Regions from separate parts of the Homo sapiens genome. Here regions 1 and 2 are each linked to region 3. Evidence: promoter capture Hi-C in 16 types of primary human blood cells and fetal thymus (Javierre and others, 2016). All regions are on one chromosome and are shown on one strand. The core of a region is centred on a gene start or on the middle of the fragment in contact, and the rest is flanking DNA. Distances in the headings are between cores, read along the strand shown.

The links. The method cuts DNA at HindIII sites, captures the fragments that hold promoters and counts their contacts. A CHiCAGO score of 5 or more calls a contact.
Region 1: the fragment with the promoter of BAZ2A here is called in contact with the fragment with the promoter of AGAP2 in region 3 in 1 of 17 cell types (total CD4 T cells); the score reaches 5.3 in total CD4 T cells.
Region 2: a contact is called between a fragment that was not itself captured here and the fragment with the promoter of AGAP2 in region 3, in 1 of 17 cell types (monocytes). The highest score is 5.5, in monocytes.

What each region holds. Positions count from the first base shown.
Region 1 is chr12:56,628,979-56,632,017 of GRCh38, forward strand. BAZ2A (bromodomain adjacent to zinc finger domain 2A) reads right to left here and starts at 1,348. Exons shown (of 29, transcript NM_001300905.2): 1 at 1,147-1,348. RefSeq lists a silencer at 935-1,284 and enhancers at 1,505-1,554, 1,585-1,654. The HindIII fragment of the contact is 7,835 bases long and covers 105-3,039 here.
Region 2 is chr12:56,321,066-56,324,031 of GRCh38, forward strand. PAN2 (poly(A) specific ribonuclease subunit PAN2) reads right to left here. Exons shown (of 26, transcript NM_014871.6): 14 at 2,742-2,848; 15 at 2,435-2,533; 16 at 2,246-2,319; 17 at 1,997-2,144; 18 at 1,550-1,693; 19 at 1,358-1,417; 20 at 1,013-1,103. Among named protein-coding and RNA genes, the nearest start is that of CNPY2, 6.6 kb to the left of the region's middle. RefSeq lists a silencer at 146-346. The HindIII fragment of the contact is 6,373 bases long and covers 1-2,966 here.
Region 3 is chr12:57,737,452-57,740,645 of GRCh38, forward strand. AGAP2 (ArfGAP with GTPase domain, ankyrin repeat and PH domain 2) reads right to left here and starts at 1,291. Exons shown (of 19, transcript NM_001122772.3): 1 at 1-1,291. The coding sequence starts at 795. RefSeq lists a silencer at 444-663. The HindIII fragment of the contact is 3,748 bases long and covers 1-3,194 here.

The DNA of each region.
Region 1 (3,039 bases), core at 98-2,597, 1.1 Mb before region 3:
GGATACGTGAGTCAACTGAAGTTGACTACTTCCAGTTGACAAGTTTACAAAAAAAAAAAAAGTCCAACGAAAGGTCTCTCGGGCCACATGGTTGGCAAGATCCAAGCTTGCCCAGAAGGCTTCAGAAAATGAAACCAAATCTGATTAAAATGGACATTTCAAAACAACAAGACACGCAGCAGCAAACGCACAGCTGCCATTTCCCGGCCACTTCCTGCGGGAGGCTGGGGGAGGGGCTGTTTGTGTACAGATAGAGGTGGAAAGCTATCCCCTCCGTCGTCCCCCAAAGCAGACAAATCTCTCACTCCAATTAACCCTACAAAGGACAACTGCTATTGACATTGCCTTCTCCTGAAAACTGGGAACACCGGGAAAGAAAGGGATGATGCGGTATCATCTTTCTGCCACGGAAGCGGGGATCCCCTCAGTGAGGAATCTCCTTGGAAAAAGGAATTCCTCTTTATTCTTCCCTTCTGCCCCTCAGCCCAGCTCAAATTGGAAAGCCTCAGCGGAAGCCCTATCAACCTCCATCCCCGGAGTGCGCGATTCTCCCGGGACGCGAGGGCCCCAAGCCAAGCGCAGCACCACCCTCAGCAAGGAAGGCCCTCTCCTGATCTTCACGCTCAAGAGAATGGGTGCGCTCCCCGAGGGAGACACCCTCAGACCCCTGGAAACCCCTTCCGCCCTCCACTCACCACAGTCAAAACGCCCAGCTCCCCGCAAACGGAGCGTTTTAACCCGCCAAGGGAACCCCCTCACCCACCCCTCGCGCTCAGGCAATCCCCACCCCCACCCGAGGAGGTGGAGCCCCTCCCGGGGATTCCACCCCAAGTCCCCCACAGGAGTCATCTCCACCAGCCAGGCGGCTTCTCCGCCTCCTCACTGTCGCCGGGAGCCCCTACAGCTCCTCCTGCCCCCGCGGCCCCGTCCGGGGTCCTCAGCAGCCCCACCAGCCCTGTTCTCCTCCCAGACCCCAGAGCAAGGAGACCCTCGCCTCGGGTTGGATCCTCGCAGGAAATAAGCTCCCGTCGGCTTCCCGCCCCGGCAAGGCTCAAGCCGGCTCTGGAGCTTCTGTTCCCCGAGGGAAGCCTCGGATGAAAGCGGGGCTCCCTCCCCCTCAGGCCCCTGGCCACAGACCCCACAAACCTGAGGCAGCGGCGTCCAGCCGGGCTCGGGGCTCGTCTCTCCCCGGGGTACAAGCGGTTCACATGGCCGCGCTCCGGGCGCCAGAACGGGTGGAGACGCCCGCTGGGGAGGGGGTCTGGGGTCCGGGGTTCGGGAAGGGGGAGGGGGACGCGGCTCAACCGCGGGGCCCGAGAGGAGCCAACATGGCCGGCGGGGGAGGAGTGAGTCGGAGCCGGAGGGGGCGGAGAAGCCTCGGCCGGGAGAGAGTCTCCCCACGCGGCCTCCGCCACAGGGTCCTAAAGCCCGCCAGCCCATCTTTCCGACCCGGACCTGGGTCCTAGCGCCGCTGTGCCTCCTGCAACTCTGGCCACCTTGCCCACCTGGCAGCTCCCTCTGCACCCGCATCTCATGGAGGCAGTGGTCCTGCTTCACACAGGGCAAACTGAAAGGCATGCCACAGTCCCAAGGTTAACTTAAAAGACTAGACCAAACGTCTAGGCCCAAAGGCAGGTGCCACTTCTCTAACAGGCTGGTAGGGGTAAGAGTCAGGGGAATTTCGGGGGCAGTTATTTCCCAGGTAGGGTAATGGAAACGTGGAAATAGAAAGGTTAGTCACTCAGGTCGCGATTCAGTAAAGGGATGGGGAGAGGCAAGAGTCAGCCACCCACTCACCTCTGTCCCTTCAGTGCAGCCTGGTCCTGCCTGGATCACCACTTTCCTGGCGACATCTGCAGGGCCCTGGTCACCGGAAAGGAAAGATTCCTGTGCGTGGGGGAAAGAAGGTTCGGCTCTGGAACCAGACAGCAAAGACCTGAGTGTAGCCTAAATGCAGTCAGAGAAGTAAAGGATAAGCTGAAAACTAATCAGCAAAAAGATGCCACAAATGTCCACCCATTCTATGGTTCTGGGAATTTTTTTCTGACAGGGCTACATAACTGTGTGAAAACTCAGAAAAGTAAAATCTAGCAGAGGACTAGAGTTTGGCTGTCACCTAAAATGTCCACTGCAGGGCACCAGGATGAAGAACAGTGTCATATGATGTTAGAGCTTAGAGAATTTCTAGTTCAGGCCGGACGCGGTGGCTCACGGCTGTAATCCCAGCACTTTGGGAGGCCGAGGCAGGTGGATCATGATGTCAGGAGTTCAAGACCAGCCTGACCAACATGATGAAACCCGGTCTCTACTAAAAATACAAAAATTAGCTGGGTGTGGTGGCGTGCCCCTGTAATCTCAGCTACTCAGGAGGCCGAGGCAAGAGAATCGCTTGAACCTGGGAGGTGGAGGTTGCAGTGAACTGAGATCGCGCCATTGCACTCCAGCCTGGGTGACAGAGGGAGACTCTATCTCAAAAAAAAAAAAAAAAAAAAATTCTAGTTCAACCTTCTCTCCTTCATCAAATGAAGAAATTAAGACCCAAAGAGGTTCAATGACTTCTTCAATGTCAAACAGTGGATAAAATATGACAAGAAAGGAAACCAGGTTTCCTTTCCTTGCAACTCAACACTTTGCAGCCTTGAAGATAATTCCCATTTAATTCAATGCAATGCAGTTCTAGAAACAGTTGCCTAAACTGTGCAAAGCTCAGGCTGCTGAATATTCTGGAAAAGCAACAGAGTGGGGATGATGAAACTCTGGCAAGTTGGGGTGTCAACAAATACGTTTTCCTCTGGGGGTCTGAGGAGGAAAGAGATCTGAAAAATGGGCAGAGTTGGGGGGTGAGATCCATCAGTCTACATTGGATTTCCTTACTCCACAGAGGGGTGGGCTCTTCCTGAATTTTGGGGAAAGACTCCACCCCTCCACCCCCCCACTACAAATGGCTCAGAGAGGATAAGAAGGAAGCTAGCTTTAGCAAAGGCTCACAGAGTGTGTGGGCCACAGACACAGAAGGCTAAGGGGGTTTCTCTTCCTCTC
Region 2 (2,966 bases), core at 255-2,754, 1.4 Mb before region 3:
AAAAAAAAAAAAAAGCAGTCTCATCCTGTTGCCCAGGCTGGAGTACACTGGTGCAATCATGGCTCACTCACTGCAGCCTTGACCTCCTGGGCTCAAGTGATCCTCCCGCCTCAGCTTCTCCAATAGCTGGGACCACAAGTATATGCCACCACACTCAGCTAAATTTTTTTTTTTTTTTTTGAGACAGGGTTTCACTCTCGTCACCCAGGCTGGAGTGCAATGATGCAATCTTGACTCACTGAAATCTCTGACTCCCAGGCTGAAGTGATTCTCCTGCCTCAGCCTCCCAAGTAGCTGGGACAACAGGAGCACATCACCATACCCAGCTACTTTTTGTATTTTTTGTAGAGACAGGGTTTCACCATGTTGCCCAAACTGGTTTTGAACTCTTGAGCTCAAGTGATCTGCCCGCCTCAGCCTCCCAAAATGCTGGGATTACAGGCCATAAGCCACTGTGCCTGGCCTATACTAGGCTAATTAAAAAAAAAAAAAAAATTTTTTTAGGCTGGGTGTAGTTGCTCACGCCTGTAATCCCAGCACTTTGGGAGGCTGAGGCGGGCAGATCATGAGGTCAGGAGTTCGAGGCCAGCCTGACCAACATGGTGAAACCCTGTCTCTACTAAAAATACAAAAAAATTAGCCGGGTGTGGTGGTGGGCGTCTGTAATCCCAGCTACTCAGGAGGCTGAGGCAGGAGAATCGCTTGAACCCAGGAGGCAGAGGTTGCAGTGAGCCGAGATTGCGCAATTGCACTCCAGCCTGGGTGACAGAGCAAGACTGCATCTCAAAAAAAAAAAAAAAATTTTTTTTCAAAGAGATGGGATCTTGCTATGTTGCTCAGGCTGGATTTCGCACTTCTAAATTTAAGGTCTGATGAGCAGGAATCTCTTTAGTATCTCCAGAAATATTAACACTGGTTACCAATCCTAAGTACTTGCAAGCAATGTCCCAGATCTCACCCTGAAGCCCAATCTAAACTGTCCACACACTTGGGTCTACTATGTAGCACTTACTGTTCAGGTTGTATCTGGAATTGAGATTCCGTTTGACATAATAAAGGATTGCAGGTACTTTCCAATTCATGTCAAACTGCACAGCTTCATGCTATAGAAGAGAAAAAGCACTTATGGCTAATGTATATCACCCTTTTCCTTTTCCCCCACTTCAGACGGAGGCCAGGACTCAGGTGCTAGTTTTTGTTTTTTTTCAGGTGCTATTTTTAAGTGCTAATGGTTTTTATTCCTGAGGATTCCTTCCTCCCTCCCTGTTGAATCTGCCTGGCATTCTATAGAGCCCTAAAGATAAGGATGCTAGGAAAAGGGGAAATGAAAGAAGAAACAGAACATGTTGCAACTAACCTTATCAATAGGTTCAATAAGAAAGTCATTGAACAGATACCACTGCTGGTGAGTAACGCCCTATGGAAATACAAAGAAAGCCTGTGGCGATACAAATTGATGGCTGGACCACTCTGTCTCAGACTCAAGGACAGATCTGGGACTCACTGTGGCCATCCCAGGAGTGTTCCTGCCCTCTACAACCTCACTCACCTCCTTGCGCTGGTGGTAGGTCTCTCCAACTTTGATGTGAGCCACCAGGCTGCCCCCTGTGCGTGAGTCCAGGATGTGTACCACAGTAGCCATCAGGTCATACACATAGACACCATGCTCCTCCTCTGCCCTGGCTGGGCCCCACTGTGAGGGGGGTACCCAGGCTGCTAAGCTAAGTTTAAGGATGGGGAAGGGAGGGGAATGGGGACAGAGGACAGGGAGTTGGGGGTATGGGGGATGGGGGACCAGGGTGGGTTATCTCCATCCTAGCCCATCTAGGACCCCAACACTGAACTGAGTGACTATGGAAAATCCCCTAACAGGTAAATACTAGGCCTTATTCTCTTCCTTTTCCCTCTGCTAAGTTTCACCTTCCCCTGCCCTCCTTTACCTTCTGCCCCACCTTCTCTCCCTTATTCCCTTTCCTCTTCCCGGTTTTTCAACAACCTGCATCTCATCCCCATCAGTCCAATTGCAAACATCCAGCCCTTTGTTTTTGGTCATCTTCATGCGAATGGAGAAAGGAAGCCAGACGTTCTTCAACTCCTCAATGGAGGGACACACCAGCACACCCTCTGGACTCCCTAGTTCCTTCCTATCAGGTCAGAAGAATTGGAAATTTGTTCCGAAAGAGGTCTTGATAAGAGGAACCACTGGGCAATTCAATCCTTTGACAACTCCCAAGACAGCACCTACCAATCAGCCAAAGCAAATTCCTTGTTCTTGGAGATTTCCCCACCGTGTTTCTTTACTGCCATCTTGAAGGCAACCTGAACACAGAAGAAAAACATCCAGTTCTTCAGGAATGTAATCATATATGGAGGTCAGAAGGGGGATAAAATGAAAAATTATTCCGGAAGCCTTGTTTCTAGTCTGAGTCCTTACCTCAGCCTGCATTCTCCAGAAATCAGCCTCTTTTGAGCTGTTCACCTCACAATTGATGACAAGAATATCTGGCAGATGGCGGATGTTGCGGGTCTGAATCTGAGAGGAAGAAACAAACAAGGAATGGCAGGGAATGTACAGGAAAAGGAGTCTGGACAGGGACCTGGGTCTGCGTCTTCAAACTGGGATTCCTCACTCCACCAGAGATCCCTGGATGGCAGTGCTGACAGAGCCAGCCCCACATGGGATAGTGGCTGAATCTCCATGGCAGGACCAGGACTCTAGTCCAGTCCAACAGTCCACTCACCGTGGGCTGGTACTTTTCACAGGTGTCACACCAGGCCTGTGTATTCTGGTCCAGGCAGATGCTTCGCTTCAGCACCTGAGCAAAGTCATAGTTCTTCCCAGTTTTATCTGAGGGAAAATTAGATGCTATACTCCTGGTTCTCCCCTCTACCCACAGTTAGTCCCCAACACCCTCTCCCTGATATTACAGGACATTTTGGGGAGCCTTCCCAACTGAGCTGAAGGG
Region 3 (3,194 bases), core at 41-2,540:
CTTCCCTCGGGCTCCAGCCCCAGCCCCGACCCCACCAGAGGTCGAAGCTGTAGAGCCCCCTCCCCCGGCGGCGGCGGCGGTGGCGGCGGCAGAGACCGAAGCTCCAGTCCCGGCGCTGCTCTTTGACCCCTTGACCCTGGGCTTGCCCTCGCTTTCGGGCCATGACAGGCGGCTACCCGCGCCCTTGCCCCCGCCGGCTTTGGCTCCACTCGTGGTCACGGTCTTGCAAGGCTTGGGAGCCGGCGGAGGAGGCGCCACCTTGAGCCTCCGGCTGCCGGTGCCAGGGTGCGGAGAGGATGAGCCAGGGATGCCGCCGCCCGCCCGGCCTTCGGGCTCCGGGCCGCCCCAGCTCGGGCTGCTGAGCAGGGGGCGCCGGGAGGAGGTGGGGGCGCCCCCAGGCTTGGGGTCGGGGCTCAGTCCCCCGGAGAGCGGGGGTCCCGGAGGGACGGCCCAGAGGGAGAGGCGGCGGCCGGGAGCGGGGGAGACTGGGCGGGCCGGACTGGCCGGAGCCGGGGACAGGGCTGGGGGCTCCGCGCCCCCGGTGCCCGCGCTGCTCGTGCTGATCCACAGCGCATCCTGCCGGTGGAAGAGACGTTCGTGCCGCTTCTTGCCCGGCTCCTCCGCGCCTCGGGGGCTGCCAGGATCCCCAGTCTCGGAGCCTCTGGCACCGGCGGCGCCGGCCGCGGCCGCAGACGGAGAAGGCGGCGGCGGAGGCACCGACTCGAGCTTAACCAGGGTCAGCGAGATGAGGTAGGTCGTTGTCCGGCGCTGAAGCGCGCCCGCGCCCCGGCTCATGGGGCCCGGAGACCCCCGAGCTGGGGAGGGGAGGGGACTCCCCCGGACTGCCTCAGGGGGGCCCGGCCATGGGGCCGCCCTGCTCGCTGCCCCCAGCCCCCGGACCCCGCTGAGCCCCCGGCCCGGCTCCGCTGTCGCCGCCGCCTCCGCCGCCTCCGCTTGCGCCCCCCTCCCATCACATGGGGCGCCCCCTCCCCATGCTCCCCGCCCTGCGCCCCCACCCTCTTGGAGCCCCGGGACCTTGGTGCTGCTCCAGGGAGGCGCGCCGGACCGTCCACCCCGGCCTGGGTGGGGGCGCTGAGATGGGTGGGGGAGGGCGGGGAGGACAGTAGTGGGGGCAAATGGGGGAGAGAGAGGAAAAGGGAGCAGAAAAGGGGACCGGAGGCTAGGGGAAACGAACCTGTGCGGGGGAGGCAGGGGCGGGGAATTGGGACTCAAGGGACAGGGGCCGCGGATGCGGTCGGAAAGAGGGTCTAGAGGAGGGTGGGAAGCTAGTGGGGCTGGCCGTGCGGGGGATTCGCAGGGGCGCGGGGAGGATGCTGGGGATGGAGATACAGGAGGCGGCGGGGGAGGAAAGAGGGAACGGGAGGTGGGTGGGAACCCACGGGTCTGGGGTCTGGGAGGGGAGGGGCGTGAGATCCGGGCGAAGAGTCCGGGGGCCTCGCCTGGGCTCGGCTTGGTCCGGATGCGCGCTGTGTCCGGGCGCTCCCCTCACATTGAGGAGGAGGCGGCCCCCAGGCCCCCCCACCCTATCTCCCCCCCACCTTTTCTCCACCAGCACCGATGTCTGCGAGGGCGGTGCAAAATCCAGGGCTGGATTTCTCTCCCAAATCCTGGGCTGGATTTCCTGGGACTTGGACTCACCTCCTCCAACAACCTAGCCCCCTCCTCTCGCGCACCAAGGTTAGGAAGCGCGATTGTGAGGTATGGCATTTAGGGATAAGGGTGAAAATCGATCTATTGGGTGGACAGGGGCCGCGGTAAACAGAGCAAACCCAGGGTCACTGCCAATTCTGGGGAAGATGAAGTGGGAAAGTGGGGGCCCTGAAATCCCTTCCCCCAGGATCTCTTGTCTCCCCCAGGTACCTGGACGGTTCCCGTTCTCATGACCCAGCTCCCTTTCCCACTCACACCACCACATTTAATACTTTGACGGGGCCAAGACTTGAGCTCGACTGTCCCAAAGTGAACTTGGAAAATGTTCCCCAGGGATGGGGACAAACATGGAACTTAGCAGGGTAGGAGAGAAGGGAGAGATCTGAGTGCTGGAGGAGCCCAGGCCACAGGGTAAGTCAAAGGCTCCAGCTCTAGGAGGAGGGAGAAGGATGTGTCTTAGACTGATACCCCCCCATGCCAAAATGCATCCAGTCTCCATAGCAACCGTAGCTCCAAGAGTGCCTCAGAAACAGCGGGCAGAAGCAGAGAGGAATCCGTGTGTATGGTGGGTAGGGGACCAACCGCGGGATGCTGAATTAGTGGAGGCACTGCCCTGACACCTGGCTACCCACAGGTGGAGGATTTCACTCCCCAAGTATAAGGACCCTTCAGTTGAGGCAGTGAGAGCCGGCCTCTTCAGGGTTCCCTTTCAGTCTCCTGAGGTTTGCTGAGTGGGATTCTTTCAGAAGATTAAAGAGGAGGCAGGCAGAGTGAATGGAAACCGTCTGCTCCGTGTCCCCCACCCCTCTAGGGGTCTTGGAGTTCAAGGCTCTCTATCCTCCAGCCAGGTGAGAATCCTGAAGTGGTTAGGCCAAAGTGGAAAAGAGGTTGAGACCCCTTGGGGGTGGGGTAAGATGGGCGAAGGAAGGTCTCTCTGCAGCCTTGGAGACCCCTTCCCGGGACTTGGGGAGTCACAGCAGTCCCCTGATTTGGCGTCCCACCCTCCTGACGCAGCTGAGACTATAATAAGTGCTGCCGTGGGCGGCTCTTGGAGGCAGGAGCCCGCAGCGTGCTTGGCCTGGTGGGGGGCTGAGGGTGGGGGGGCTGAGCCAGGATGCCAGGAGCCCTTTGTTCTCCCAGAGGCCTGTATCCAATCCCTCCAATGTTCTGTCCTGGGGCTCAGCAGTTTCTCCCTCCCTCCCTACAGAACCAAGATGACACCATCCCCAGGACAGGAGACCCTTCAGTAGTGTTTTTTGATGGAGAGGGTGAAGGAGAATTGTTGGCTCTGGCTTAAACTTCCCTCCTTTGATGGCCTCGGTTTTCCTTTATGTTCAATGGGAACAGAATACTAATTCTTAGAGAAGGAGTAAAACAAATCACTTATGAGGAGTGAAGCCTTCTCAGGGATTTCCACCTCCACCCCTCCTCACCCTCCTCCCTCTCCAGAGCTAAGCACAGCTTTTCTGCCTGGCCTAAACCGCTCTTCTCCTTTATTATTATTATCATTATTATTTTTGAGA